2 separate regions of the Homo sapiens genome follow, and region 1 is linked to region 2. Evidence: promoter capture Hi-C in human tissues and cell types (Jung and others, 2019). All regions are on one chromosome and are shown on one strand. The core of a region is centred on a gene start or on the middle of the fragment in contact, and the rest is flanking DNA. Distances in the headings are between cores, read along the strand shown.

Region 1 (4,211 bases), core at 181-2,680, 86 kb before region 2:
AATGAAAATAATAAGGATCAAATGGGATATTATATATAAAAAGGCTGTGTAAACCATAAAACATTACTGGGGGATAAGGGTCAGGTAAAGATCAATAGAGATTTAAAAAGAACTGTGACCAGAATAGGAATTACATCAGCAAGGGAAAGAACGGGAGAGGCTTCCAGATAAAAAAGCATACACAAAGACTGAAAAGTTAGAAAGAGCTTGGCAAGTTGAGGGAACTGAGGAAGGTTCAGTGAGGCATTTTAGAGTTTTTTCATTGTGCTATATAAATTTATATGATATTAACATTTTTATGTGATCAATCAAATAATAACATTATTTTTACATTGACACTATCATTTAAATTTCAGAGGATTCTGGAGCACTTTATGTATATTTAGATTAAATATATTATTTTGTTTATCCCTTATAAAACATATCAAATAAAATATGCAGGGCATTACAAATAACACGGTATGAAACAGAGGCTACCACATATTTTTGAAAATTAGCTACAAGTTGATAGAATTATCAGTGTTGAAAATCTACTCTTGAACCTGGGAGACGGAGGTTGCAGTGAGCCAAGACTACGCCACTGCATTGTAGTCTGGGCGACAGAGAGAGACTTCATCTCAAAAAAAAAAAAAAATTCTCTTAATGAAAAGAATGTTCCTCTCTCCCCTCTCTTCCTTCACTTAACTTTTACTCTTCCTTTGGTAAAATAAAAAATGTGCTATAAAAGTGAAATCACTTTCTTTCCTGCCTTTTTAATGTTTTGTTTAACTTTCTTGTTACACTCCCTGAATAGTGAAATACATTTTCAAATTATTGCTAAGAATAGGCCGGTCTCAGTGGCTCATGTCTGCAATCCCAGCATTTTGGGAGGCCAAGGCAAGAGAACTACCTGAACGTAGGAATTCAAGACCAGCATGGGCAACATAGCGAGACCTTATCTCTACAAAAAATAAAAATAAATTAGCTGGGTGTGGTGGCACGTGCCTGTAGTCCAGTTACTTGGGAGGCTAAGGTGGGAGGATCACTTGAGCCCAGGAGGTTGAGGCTGCAGTGAGCTATGATAGTGACACTGCACTCCAGCCTGGGTGACAGAGCGAGATTTTGTTATGGTAAGTTTGAAACTTTCACTGTGCCTTCCCTTTGGTTCATTAGGTTATAATAAAGGCCACAAGCTCAAATGCCTCAAGAACCAGGCAGGGAACAAACAAATCCTGTGGGAACCACAGTGAACCTGCACACAGGTCCACAGAAAGGAAGCAACTGTAACTCACCTCTAGAGAACTGTTGCCATGCCAACACTAGGTCCAGATCTTTTTTATTTTTATTTATTTATTTATTTATTTATTTATTTATTTATTTATTTATTTTTTGAGACGGAGTCTAGCTCTGTCACCCAGGCTGGAGTGCAGTGGCACCATCTCGGCTCACTGCAAGCTCTGCCTCCTGGGTTCATGCCATTCTCCTGCCTCAGCCTCCCAAGTAGCTGAGACTACAGGCACCCGCCAAAGCGCCCGGCTAATTTTTTCTATTTTTAGTAGAGACGGGGTTTCACCGTGTTAGCCAGGATGGTCTCGATCTCCTGACCTCGTGATCCGCCCGCCTCGGCCTCCCAAAGTGCTGGGATTACAGGCGTGAGCCACCATGCCTGGCCAAGGTCCAGATCTTTAGGATTCTTAGACGACCTAACAATTATGATTTTTCTTTGGAATTTTCATGGTAAATTTGATGCATAATTCATGTGGTTCAAAGATCACTCTGGACTGAACAAAATGATGTTTCTATGAGATATGAGTTGGCAACCTCAGTTCAGTATAACATTTCCTTATTTCTGTTTTCTGACACACACTACACAAAAGGTTTGTGAACCTTTACATATGTTTTTAAAATGTTGAATTGGATCAGATCATCCCATCTTCAGAAAGCTTGAATGATGCTACACTGATTACTGCAATAAGTACCAATTTCTCAACTAGACATTGGTTGCCCAGTAAAATATATCTCCAAAGCTGTAACTATCTCATCATCCTACAGACCCTTAAGTTTCAGGCAAAATGGACACATTTCACTCATGTCTCATCCTCCTATTCTGCAAAACCCATTAAACATCATTTCATTAGAAAATAAATGTTTGTGGCTGGGCCTGGTGGCTGACACTTGTAATCCCAGCACTTTAGGAGGCCAAGGCAGGTGGATCGCTTGAGGTCAGGAGTTCAAGGCCAGCCTGGCCAAAATGGTGAAACCCCGTTTCTATTAAAAATACAAAAAATTAGCTGGGCATGGTGATGCATGCCTGTAGTCCTAGCCACTAAGGAGGCTGAGGCAGAAGAACTGCTTGAACCTGGGAGGCAGAGGTTGAAGTCAGTGCAGACCATGCCACTGCACTCCAGCCTGTGGACAGCAGGAGACTGTCTCAAATAAATAAATAAATAAACAAAATAGAAATAAAAATAAAATAAATAAATAAACTGAAAAAGAAATGTTTGTGTTCTTATCCTTCCAGTAGTCCCAGTGCCTAATAATCTGTATTACTGGTAAAGTTTGTATCAAATATTATCTTGTGTTAAAGTGAATAGTTTCTTTACAAATCTCCCATAAAAATCACAGCATCAGGAACTATCTTAGTCATCAGCATCCATTCATCTGCTTTTTCCCATAGTGCGTACTCTGGCAGGCACTAAACCAGAGTTTTTACCTTCATTTTCATACCTAACAATCCTGAGAAATCAAAAATAAAATACTTATTCATGACAGTTATTTGTGCACATTTGAATCTAGACAGTGTAGTAATAGGTATTATTGCAGGCTAATAAACCAACGAGAGGGCAGGATTTGTCAGCCAAAGTTGAAATTATTTTATCTAATTTCTTCAAAGTAAGAAGATTTCTTCCACCAAAAATATTTTTTAAAAATTATTCCTCAAAGTCCCTCAAGCCATTATCACAGGAAGGATCAATAATAAGAGACTGGCATTGACAGTGAAAGAGGGAAGGATCAATAATAAGAAACTGGCATTGACAGTGAAAGATAACAACAAAGATAAAGGCATTGCTTCAAAAGACCAGTCAGTGGCTATACACACAGACGTACACACGTTCCTGCACAGAGAAAGGAGTTACAACACTATCACCAGAAAGATTATGACATGTAAGGGATTTGGAGGTCTAACATCAAAACCTAAAGATAGCTGTATTAGATCCATAGTGATGCCTTCATAAAACAATAAAAGGCAACTCAAGATGAACAAAATACGGTGAAAACTGGCTAATCACTATCAAGTTCCATTCTCATTCTGAACATAAACTTATAACTAAAGTCTAGGAAAAGGTACTTAATATTCCTACAGAAAAGAAAGAGATGAAATTTAGTCACTAACATATACAAACAAGATCAAGATCCCCGCTTATGTTTTCCTATCAAAGGACAGGCAGAGGTTCCAAAAATGTAAGATAAAAATAATGTGATAACAGTAATTATAGGATGATTGAGTTAATTTAAGAAATATCTCCTGTACTCTTATGGCTCAGATATTGTACCAGGGAACCAGAATACAGAAACGATAACCAACGATACCTGCCCCCAAGAGCATTGCCTTTAGTAGGAAAGGCAGAGAAGAAGGAATGGTTACAATAGATTATAAGAAGGAGTCTTAAGAGGAGTGATTGAAATTTAAATATCTTTCTATGGTATACTTAACTCTTGCTCAGAGTGACTGGGCAGGGAGAGTTTCACAGAGAAAGTGTCACTGGAGCTGGCATTTAAAGAATGAATGGAAAAAAACATAAAAGACACAAAATAATTTAGGTTTGATTTAAGGTTTTTTTTTTGTTTCCTTTTTTAAGAGGTATAAAAATAAAAAACAGGATAGTATTAACTCTATTTACTCACTAACATAGGTTGGCTCTCATCCTGGGAGATGAAATACATATTCTCCAAGGTTTAAAAAAAAAAAAAAAACAAAAAAAAAACTAAAGATAACAAAAGTGTTAGCATAAAAGTAAAAACTTATTGAGGACAACTGAGAGGTTGCTGCCTTTATGAAATAGAGAGAGTACAGTGAATTTGAAGTTTTGTTTTAAAGGTGATGTATACTTTAGCACAACAGTTGGATTTGTAATGGTACCAAGGACCTGAATAAATCGATAATTTCATACAAGTAGGAGTACATTTGCACTGTTTTCCAGTCTTTTAGTTTTAAGATGTTTTCTAACTTC
Region 2 (4,522 bases), core at 13-2,512:
GTAGAGGGTCTCGAAGTCCTTCCTGGAGATGAGTTTGCAGCGGTTCACTCCTGGCTGGATGGCGCCCAGTCCCCTCAGGATGCGAACTTGTTCCACATTGCACACCACCGGCGTGATCTCCAGCCGCTTCAGCTTGGTGTAGACCGTATGCAAGCCCCCCACCAAGTGCTTCAGGAACAGGTCGAAAGCCTGGGGCAGGCAGATCAGCTCGCAGCCCTCCACCGTGAAGGAAGCCACTTTGGCCCCCCTCAGATCCACCATTTTGCACTCATTATTCTGAGGGGTGTTTTCCACTGGGGACGGGGTTGAGTACACGGGTTTCCCGGGGAGGGGGCCGCAGCTGCTGCTGCTACTGCTGCTGCTGCTACTACTGCTGCTGCTGCTGCTGCTGCTACTGCTGCTGCTGCTGCTGCCGGTGCTGGCGTTGATGGGGGTGCTGGAAGCGACGCCGCCGCCAGCGCTGATGCCGCCGCCGCCGCCGCCGCTGCCGTTGCTCGCGGCCGCCAGGTTGGGGTTGCAGTTGCTGCCACCGCCGCCGCCGCCACCGCCGCCTCCGTTGCCGCTGCTGCCGCCGCCGCCTCCGCTGCCGCCGCCGCCGCCGCCGCCGCCGGTAGAGGTGACTGTGGCCGCCGCCGCCGCCGCCGAAGCGATGGGCTCCGGGCGGAACAGAGTTGGCCCAGAGGACGCCGGGGGTCCGATGGAAGGAGCCGGAGACGAAGTCGCCGAAGAGGTGGAGGTGGTGGTGCCAGAGGAGGAAGCAGACGTGGAGATTGGGGGTTGAGGGGGGACCAGCTGGGTCGGAGGGATCAAAGCCGCCGGCACTGCCATGGTCACATATAAGGGGAAACAGACGGAGGAGAAGCGAGAGGAAAAGTTGCCACACACCCCCGGGAGGGGAAGGGGAAAAAAGGGGGGAGAAGGAGCGAGGGGGGCAACAACAACTCCGGGAGAGAACGAGAAGGAGAAAGGGAGAGAAGGGGGAGAAAAGGAGGTGAAGGTAATAAAGAGCGAGCGCAAGAGGGGCGAGCACGAGAGGCGCTCTGGAGAGGAACGCACAAAAGTGTCCCGCAAGTCGAAATGCGAGTCCTCTCCGGGGGCTGGGATCGAGGGCTGGTTTGGGGGTGGGGGTGGGGCGGGGAGGGTCGGCTGTTGTTGTGTGGGTCTCGCTCTAGCACAAAGTTAAGGATGAAGGTGAAAAGGAGGAGGTTTGAAGGACTTGGGCTCTCCCTGGCAAGTACATTGATCAAAGATTGAGAGGGGAATGACAGAGAGAAAATGAGCTGAAAAGTGCAGGCTGCCGGCTGGACGAGTTGTTGTTGTCACACGGTGCAGAGGGGAGGAGCTCCGGAAACTTGAAATACCCTTTGAAGCCGCAAAAACCTCACTCACTAGTATTAACCCAAATTATCCAACCAGGAACTCGGAGCAGAGACTCCGAGAGCGCGAGACACTGGAGAGGGAGCGTGCGAGGAAAGGAGGAGGGGAGGGGGAGGATACGGAAAGAAACTGTGGGAGGGACGGAGAGGAAAAGCCGGGGACACAGAAGTGGCGATCGGAAAAGGAGAGGGAGATCATCTACTTCTCTTCTACTACTACCGTTAGATTGCATGTCTCACATTCCATTTCGTCCGCGGGGACTGGTAATTTTTTCCAAAGCTTCTAAACAATCGCCCGCCAACTTAAAGAGGAGCCTGAGCGCGCCGAGCTCTCTCCTTCCAGGATTTAGGATCCATCTCCACGCGTTTTGGCAATGAGCTAGAAACGAAAACACAGCCCCCACTTCACGATTATTCAGAAATTATTTTGAGGAAAATTCACATGTAAGCAAAGCGTAATGTTCTTTTGCATCTGATTGTTTATTTCTCTACTAAATTATTTATTTATATAAAGATAGTGAAAATTCCAGGACAGTTTTCAAGTGGTGAGAAGAAAGTCAGTCCGAAATCGCTTAAGAATAATGGAAAGCTCTGTATTCAATTCCATATTTCCTAATAGGTTGTGGAAAGAAATGCTTGCCTTGATGTGGATGATTTAGAATAACTTCACTGTCTCCCCAAAAGCCAGTCAGAAATACCTGTTAAACCTAGAGCTATCAAGGAGATAAGGTATCCTTGAAGATTTAGAAAGTGGAAAAAGGGTTTTCTTACCCAAAACTCTATAATTAATTCACCTGTCTTACACAGTAACCAACTATCCTCATGTCCTTTAAGACCCAAAGCCAATTGCTAATGTGTTTTTTGGACAACACAATAGTTTTTTTTTTTTTTTTTTCATGTTTGAAAAGTGCTGCTGTAGTTTTGGAAAGTCCTTTTCAATTTGTCAGTAAATATATGTTTTGTAAATAATGGGAAGAACAAAAACAAAGCTCACTAGTTGACTTGTAAAGACTTGGGTAGCTGTGCTTAAAACAACATGAGGCTGAGTTTAGACTGACTCTATTCCTCCTTTCCTTCCTCTTTCCTTTTCTTTTCTTTTCTAACTTGTTGCACTGAAGTATTTATTCAAGGATTTTTGACTAACATATCATTTGAATATGGGTCAAATCTATTTGCTGCTCATGTCTCCAAGTATCTTCAATTAGTTAGCCTTTGAACCGGTCCACACATGTTCAGTAAGTTCATAAGATATGAAGCAATGCTTTAGCATTTGACAGATTTTTAAAATAAACTGTTAGTAGCAGGTTCACAGGGTTGGGAAATTTTATAATAAAATTTTTGCCATTCTGGTGTTGAAATGATCACATTTCTCTATATCATTTTAAGCCTTTGAACTCTGTGAATCGCAGTGTCAAATAGTGCAGGAACTGTCTACCGAAAAATAGAAATATGACACTATGGACTAATTAGTGTATGATTATACTAAAATTTTTGGGACATAGCAGTTAAATCAGGAGGCTTTCCTGGGAGATAAGAATTCAGAAAATCGATTGTTGCAGAAAAGTCCATGAACTTCTGCAAGGACAACTAAAGTTTAAACAGTTGTTTGGCCTGGTTAACCAATGTATTGTAATACATTCAGAAATAATTTTTATTTATGTTTCAGTCTTCAAATTTGTTATGGGTAAAAGTAGGAATTCAATATATATCACATACATCAAAACACTTCCTTAAGTATTTTTGCATGTTTTAGAAAATATTACTTTTTTAAGACATACCAAACTACTATTATAATGAGGGGAGGGGAGGAAGAAAGTATTAAGCCCTGAAAAGCTAATTTTATTTTCGAATTCTATGCCTAACTTTAATAAATTTTGATATGGTTTTAAAAGACTAAACTATAGTCTCATTATTTTAAGTTCTAGACCCACAAATGGAAGAATGGGAATTAAATGCCGAGCATCTGCCATTACCATTCTCATTTTTTACATTTCCTTAAACTATCACTCACCCAATACCTGACACATTCGGAAGCTACAGACAGGAGGTAATGATAGCAGCCCAAGCCATAATCCCACCTTGCTTCGAAGCAAACTCCAAATTTTCTACTGCAGGGAAACCTTTGCCTCCGAGCACGTGCTCCACTCAGAAGCAGGGCTGAGAGACATTTGCCCCCACCTGAATAAGAGCTCTCCAGCCTTCCTTCTCCTGACCTCAGGTCTCAAAATCAGTTCAGGGAACCACCACTTACCCCTTCAATCAAACAATAGGATTAGAAAAGGCATATAGCACAAATTAAAATATGTAGGAAATAAAAGCCTTGAAAATTTTGAAGGTTTTATCTCTTTTTTCTTTCCTTTTTTTTTCTTTTTCTTTCTTTCTTTTTGAGAAATGTTGCCAATGAGTAAGGCAAACAGTTATTTAACAACAACAGATAAATCAACTTAGAGATTTTGAATTCTCACTCCATTGCATCTTTAGCTTTTAGAGCTTTTGTCTTGCTTGTTTATTGTTTTACATCTCCGCTTGTTTCAGGTCCTCTCCATCTCATCTTCCCCAACCTTCACTCAATTTGCATAAGCAAAACTCAAAGTACTGTAACTGATATTAGAAAATTCTCCCTGTGTTTTGTGAAGACGTATTGTGCTGAAATCAATAAGACTGTTTAAAATTCAAAGACCTGCAAATCGTTCTGTTTGTCCTTTGATAGGGCCTGTGCTGATTAAAATGCTACCAAGAAAGCTTAATTGCTGCACTAATTAAGAAGTCTTTAATTTCTTTCCTAGGATATCGTTTGAAGCTTAGCTTGTACCAGTTCAGGGAAGGTATTTTCTTCCCTCCCTCTGCCCCCTTCTGGCCCCTCCCCTCCCTTTTTCCCGTCCTCCCTTCCCCCACAACCCCCCCCACCCCCCGCCCGACAATGAGATCCCTACGAATGGGAACTAACAGAGAGAGTGGTCTCAGGTCTTGCTATCTGTTACTTAACAAAAATCGGCACAGGATGCAGAGTTCAGTACAGTATGAAATGCAGTTTTGAGAAGAGCTGTAAGGTTGCAAGAGACAGTAAGAAAATACAAAGTAGCTGTTGCAGCTAAAGTCCCGCTGAATACCTGGATGACAACAGGCACTTTAGCCCGATGATGAGG

The links. Contacts are between HindIII fragments. The study calls those that stand out against the background at their distance.
Region 1: a fragment that was not itself captured here is called in contact with the fragment with the promoter of DACH1 in region 2 in 2 of the 25 tissues and cell types used here (lymphoblastoid cells and spleen).

Annotation. Positions count from the first base shown.
Region 1 is chr13:71,780,027-71,784,237 of GRCh38, forward strand. All of the region lies in intron 1 of DACH1 (dachshund family transcription factor 1), which reads right to left. Among named protein-coding and RNA genes, the nearest start is that of DACH1, 85 kb to the right of the region's middle. The HindIII fragment of the contact is 5,838 bases long and covers 1-4,211 here.
Region 2 is chr13:71,865,942-71,870,463 of GRCh38, forward strand. It overlaps DACH1 (dachshund family transcription factor 1), which reads right to left and starts at 1,263. Exons shown (of 11, transcript NM_080759.6): 1 at 1-1,263. The coding sequence starts at 828. The HindIII fragment of the contact is 6,446 bases long and covers 1-2,887 here.